2 separate regions of the Homo sapiens genome follow, and region 1 is linked to region 2. Evidence: promoter capture Hi-C in 16 types of primary human blood cells and fetal thymus (Javierre and others, 2016). All regions are on one chromosome and are shown on one strand. Each heading gives the region's core, a stretch centred on a gene start or on the middle of the fragment in contact. The rest is flanking DNA. Distances are from core to core; before and after follow the strand shown.

Region 1 (2,700 bases), core at 176-2,675, 250 kb before region 2:
GACTGCAGATACAACAGTGGTCCCATAATATCATAATACTGTATTTTTACCCACCATTTCTATGTGTAGATATGCCTAAATTCACAAATATTACCATCATGTTATAATTGCCTACAGTATTCAGTATAGTAACATGCTGTACGGGTTTGTAGCCTAGGAGCAATAGACTATACCAGCTAGCCTAGGTGTATAGTAGGCTACACCATCTAGGTTTAAGTACACTCTACAATGTTCACACAGTGATGAAATCAGCTAATGATGCATTTCTCAGAATGTATCCCTGTCATTAAGTGATACATGACTATAATTATTTAAATGGCCAATAATCAACAGGGACCTGGGTCTGCCATGAAGTAGAGTAGTCAGAGCAACGTTTTCCAACCTGTGTGCTGGGGGCATGGTTTGGAGATGCACTGAGATAATGGTCCCTGGGGTGGGATGGCATGGCGAAGGGGAGCCAGAGTTTCTAGGCCAGTTGTTCTCAGCCACAAGCTGAGTCCTCCCTTTACCCCAGAACATCCTGATGTGAAGAAGATTGGCAAATGGTACATGAGAGGGTAGTACATATCTAGCCAAGATTCTGTTTGTGGTGTGTGTTATATCTTGAGTCTGTTCTGTGACCACTGCCTGAGCCTTAGTTTGAAAAAGCTTTGGTCCCAGGGAACTGGGTGAGCAGCACCCAGTGGATAATTTGGTACAAGCGCATCCCCATCACCATCACCTGTGGAAAAGTAACTCAAAAGTTCCTGTCAGTAGTGTTAACCTATCTACAGAGAATAGCACAACAAGGGTAATTTTTTTAAGGTTGTAATTTATGTTTTTATAATGTTCCTGGTCCCCATCTGTCAACATTTTGTGTGGATGTTCTTTTAGAACTAGTTTAGACTTTTTTGTGATATCATTAAAACATTGGGAAATACTTTCTGATATTTAGGTGATAATACTTTATCTCCTTGTTAGACTTTAAATCCCTGACTTCTCTCCTTAGACTCTTGAGCAGTGCTTTGGAAGATGCTTTGCATAGTAGCAGGTGATTAGGAATCCAGTAAAATCATAGTCTTGCGTCAAGTATGCACAGCTAATGAGATAGGAAATAAGAGGCAGGAAGTTGATGCTTTTTGTCTACATTCTGTCCTCTTATCCAGAGATGAAGTTCTATATCCTCCCCAAAGCCTTCCCTGTTGATTTCTCCCTACAAGTATTCCTATAGTCCTTGCAGTTGCAGTTTGTACTACACAAATTAAGAAATAATTATATCCTAATGTGTCATATGATATCATAATGTGTCATATGATGACCTTCATATAAGAATGCCCTTGTTTCTCCAGCTATACATTATAGATTTCCTGAAGACAGGCACCATGCTGTATTTTTTCTTTCCCCGTGCCACATGGTGGGAAGTACATAACAAGTGTCCAACAAATGCTACATGTTATCTTTTTAATATCCTCTCTTCCCTTCCTCAATACCAGTGGCCAAATATGAACATGAAGGATCAGGAACCCCCAGGATCTGTCCACCTGATTGGTCTGGGAACCAAAGACATAGGATTGCCATTGTCACTTAAGAGGGACCATGTAGCTCAGGAGGGTTCTGTGTCTTCAGATGCTCGAAATCCTTTGAGACAGCTTTAGATAAACCTTCCAGTTGTCAAACCTGAAAGGAAAGTTAATTCAAATATAGACGCCTACTTGTCTCTTTTGTATATCCTATTATCATAATAATATGGAAAATTAAGGGCTTTGGCCTTAACTGTGGTTTTTTTCCTTTCAACCTTGTGGCCTCTTTAAGTTTTTATTTGAAAATTCAGCAATCCGTTCAAGAGCCTCAGATCTTTTGTCTCTGTCCTAAGGGGTGGGACAGGCGTCCCAGGCTAGGACGACAATATGTGAAAGTGGACTTAGGAGATCTGCACCAGCACCCACCGCTCACTACTATTCAGGGTAGGAGGGGACAGGTCCTTGTGCTACTTATCCCATGTCCCTCATCAGATCTTCCTGGTCATCACAGACTCTAGCTCTAGCTAACATCATTTTCTCTTTCTTCTGCTGGCTTCTTCCCGGAATTGTTTCATTTTCACTAGTTTTTACCTAATAAATTAGGGCTTTCTTACCAGACATTTGGGAGCTCTCTGAGTTGTTCTAATTTTGTTTCCAGGCTACTGAAGCCTCAGCTTTTATTTGTCTTGGCCATAAAAGCTTGATAGCTTTCTTGCTTTTTTTTTTTTTTTTTTTTTTTTTTTGAGACGGGGTCTCGGTCCGTTGCCCAGGCTGGAGTGCAGTGGCATGATCATAGATCACTGCAGCCTCAACCTCCTGGGCTCAAACAATCCTCCTGCCTTAGCCTCCTGAATAACAGAGACCACAGGCAGACGCCACCATGCCTGGCTATTTTTTTTTCTTTTTTTTTTTTTTTTTTTTTTGAGACAGAGTCTTGCTCTGTTGCCCAGGCTGGAGTTCAGTGGCGCGATCTCAGCTCACTGCAGCCTCCACCTCCCAGGTTCAAGCAATTCTCCTGCCTCAGCCTCCCAAGTAGCTGGGATTACAGGCACACGCCACCATGCCTGGCTAATTTTTTTTTGTATTTTTAGTAGAGATGGGGTTTCACCATGTTGCCCAGGCTAGTCTCAAACTCCTGGGCTCAAGTGATCCACCCGCCTCAACCTCCCAAAGTGTTGGGATTATGGGCATGAGTCATTAT
Region 2 (2,700 bases), core at 65-2,564:
CAACTTCTAAGTGTGGCTCAAACCTCCTTTCAGGGGTCAGGAAGCCATTCAGTGTGCACTGCCCGCTTCCTGTGGTCATCCCGCTCAGACCCTTGTCTGTATTTGCTCCCTCATCCTCGTCTTTTTGAATTTTGAAAGATCCCCTGAGGTGCAGCCTGCTGTAGGCCTCAGCCCAGGCTGGGAGCGGGAAGCTGGGGCTGTTTCCACGTCCTCAGAGCCTTTGTGCCCCTCCCTCTTCCAGCCCCTCCAGGGTGGTGGCAGCCAGAACAGCACCCGCTCTGTCCCCTCGGGTAGCCGGGACACGTCTTCCTGGGCCAGCTCTGAGCGCAACAAGCCACAGGTCCAACGCGCGCGATCTTCCAGTCCCACAATGCCCCCTCCCCGTCCCATTTCTGGCACTTAGACACGAGTCAAGGTAGAGGAGAAAAACCTGCTTTATTTTATTTTCACCATTTCTGGGGTGGCTATGGGGGAAGCGAGTGGCGCGCTTCGAGGGTGTTCGGAGCCATCAAGTTTCAGCGCTGGGAGAAGGTGGCTTCCGCGTCGCAGGCAGGGTCGGCGTGGCAGCCGTCTGGAGGAAGAGGTGGAGTCAGGGGAATCCCGGCCGCACCCCCGCCCGCCTCCCCCTGGCCCCGGAGCGCCTTGCCCCGCTCACCCGGGCTGCAGCAGAGGCCCAAGACCGCGCAGCGGCCCCCGCTCCCGCACGCCTTCTGGCCGGACTGGCAGGGCGACGGCAGGTAGTTCTCCTCCTGGCAGCGCAGCGCTTCGGCGGTGCCCACGAAGCAGCCCAGCTCTTCCGCGCAGCAGATATTGGGCCCGAAGCAGCGGCCTTTGCCCCCGGGGCCGCAGGGGAGGCACTGCGGGGACGGGCGGGGTGAGCGGGAGCCGGGGCGGCGCTGGGGACTCGCTCGGAGGACCCTGCGAGGCCGGCCGGGGTGCGCCGGGCAAGGATGCTGGGGTCCGGGGTTCGGAGTTCGGGCGGGACAGCGGGGCTGAGACGCGCTGGGGCGCCGTGGGGGCCTCGACCGCGGTCAAGGGCGGGGCGTCAAAATCCGCTCAGCTCCTGGAGTTCTCAGGCGAGGCCGGAGCGGGGCGCGCCCCTGTGGCTGCGGGTCCCTCCCTCCCCGGAGCGCCGCGGGACCAGGGCTGGGGACTCACCTTGCGCACGTCGAGGTCCGGCGCGGCCCTCTTGCCTCCCAGGGGGCAGTTCTGGATGTAGCAGGCGGAGGTCAGCGCCAGGAGGCCGAGCAGACAGCAAGCGAGGCTGGGGCCGGCCATGGTGCGGGTGCGCTGGGTCCAGGGTCCGTGACTGGTGGCGGTCTCTCCGGCCTGGCCTTTTTATGCCTGGGCATTGCGTCGGTGGAGCTCTGTTTAAGAGGTTGGTAGTATGATTGGTCACAGAGGGTCGCCGTGGGTCAGGCCGAGTGCGTACGGGCTTTCCTCTTCATTAGCAGGGCCTGGGCCGGGGTCAAGGTCACCGCGTTGGCTAATGGTCTGGGCACAGAAGGTGAGGTGCCTTGCGGAAGGGAGCAGGCCGGGGTGGCCTGGGCCACTAGGGTGGGACAGGGAGAATTTGGGGTGGGGTGTGGCCCAGCCGAAGACTTTATCCAGCCTCCCAGTACCTCGAGGAGGGGGGCTGGGGCAGGGAAGGTGGACGCTGGGACCCCTCCAGGTGGGAGGAGGCTCTGGCAGGATCCGCCCACCCTCTTGGCCCACCACGCATGTGGATCATTGTCCCCTCTTTTAGGAACATTTCCTCTTCCTAAACCCAAATTTCCAGAAAACCTCTTCACCCTCACCACACAGCAACACCCACTTCCCTGCACCTGAAACTTGGATAGGAAGAGATCACATCTGTCTCTAATCTGTAACTGATATTCCACCTTTCCTTTCACTATAAATTAGGCAACAAACCACAGCAGAATTAGCAATACCTGTGGCTTTGTCACAAATCAAAATAGAAGATAACTTCCTATCACAGCTGTCACAAATGCCTCTATATACTGTTTAGATTCATTATATCTTCAAAATTATCACAGTTATTGGGCCACGACCAGATCTTGCTATCTAATGGTTAAAGAAGCACGTTTATGACACCATCAAAATGTGTTTTGGCTGGGCGCTGTGGCTCACGCCTGCAATCCCAATACTTTGGGAGTCTGAGGTGGGCAGATCACTTGAGACCAGAAGTTCAAGACCAGCCTAGGCAACATAGCGAGAACCCCCAACTCTACAAAAAATACAAAAATTAGCTGGGCGTGTTGGTGTGCTCCTGTAGTCTCAGCTGCTTGGGAGGCTGAGGCAGGAGTACCGCTTAAGCCTGGGAATTCAAGACTGCAGTGAGCTGTGATCGTACCACTGCACTCCAGCCAGAGTGACAGAGCGAGAGCGAGACCCTGTCTCAAAAAAAAAAAAAGTGTTTTAACATTTTGATATCTGAATATAAATATATATATTTTTTTCTTGAGACGGAGTCTCGCTCTGTCGCCCAGGCTGGAGTGCAATGGCGGGCGCCATCTTGGCTCACTGCAACCTCCACCTCCTGGTTTCAAGCGATTCTCCTGTCTCAGCCTCCCAAGTAGCTTGGATTACAGACATGCACCACCACGCCTGGCTAATTTGTGTATTTTCAGTAAAGACGGGGGTTTCACCATGTTGACCAGGCTGGTCTCGAACTCCTGACCTCAGGTGATCCACCCG

Evidence for each region. Contacts are between HindIII fragments. The CHiCAGO score rates a contact against its expected background, and 5 or more counts as called.
Region 1: a contact is called between a fragment that was not itself captured here and the fragment with the promoter of OXT in region 2, in 1 of 17 cell types (naive CD4 T cells). The highest score is 5.3, in naive CD4 T cells.

What each region holds. Positions count from the first base shown.
Region 1 is chr20:3,318,805-3,321,504 of GRCh38, reverse strand. The region is part of intron 16 of DNAAF9 (dynein axonemal assembly factor 9); the gene reads left to right. Among named protein-coding and RNA genes, the nearest start is that of SLC4A11, 81 kb to the right of the region's middle. The HindIII fragment of the contact is 1,550 bases long and covers 651-2,200 here.
Region 2 is chr20:3,070,234-3,072,933 of GRCh38, reverse strand. OXT (oxytocin/neurophysin I prepropeptide) reads right to left here and starts at 1,314. Exons shown (of 3, transcript NM_000915.4): 1 at 1,159-1,314; 2 at 656-857; 3 at 417-571. The coding sequence starts at 1,278. The coding sequence ends at 516. LOC101929098 (a long non-coding RNA gene) reads left to right here and starts at 635. Exons shown (of 2, transcript XR_430278.4): 1 at 635-737. RefSeq lists an enhancer at 1-63 and a silencer at 539-648. The HindIII fragment of the contact is 21,298 bases long and covers 1-2,700 here.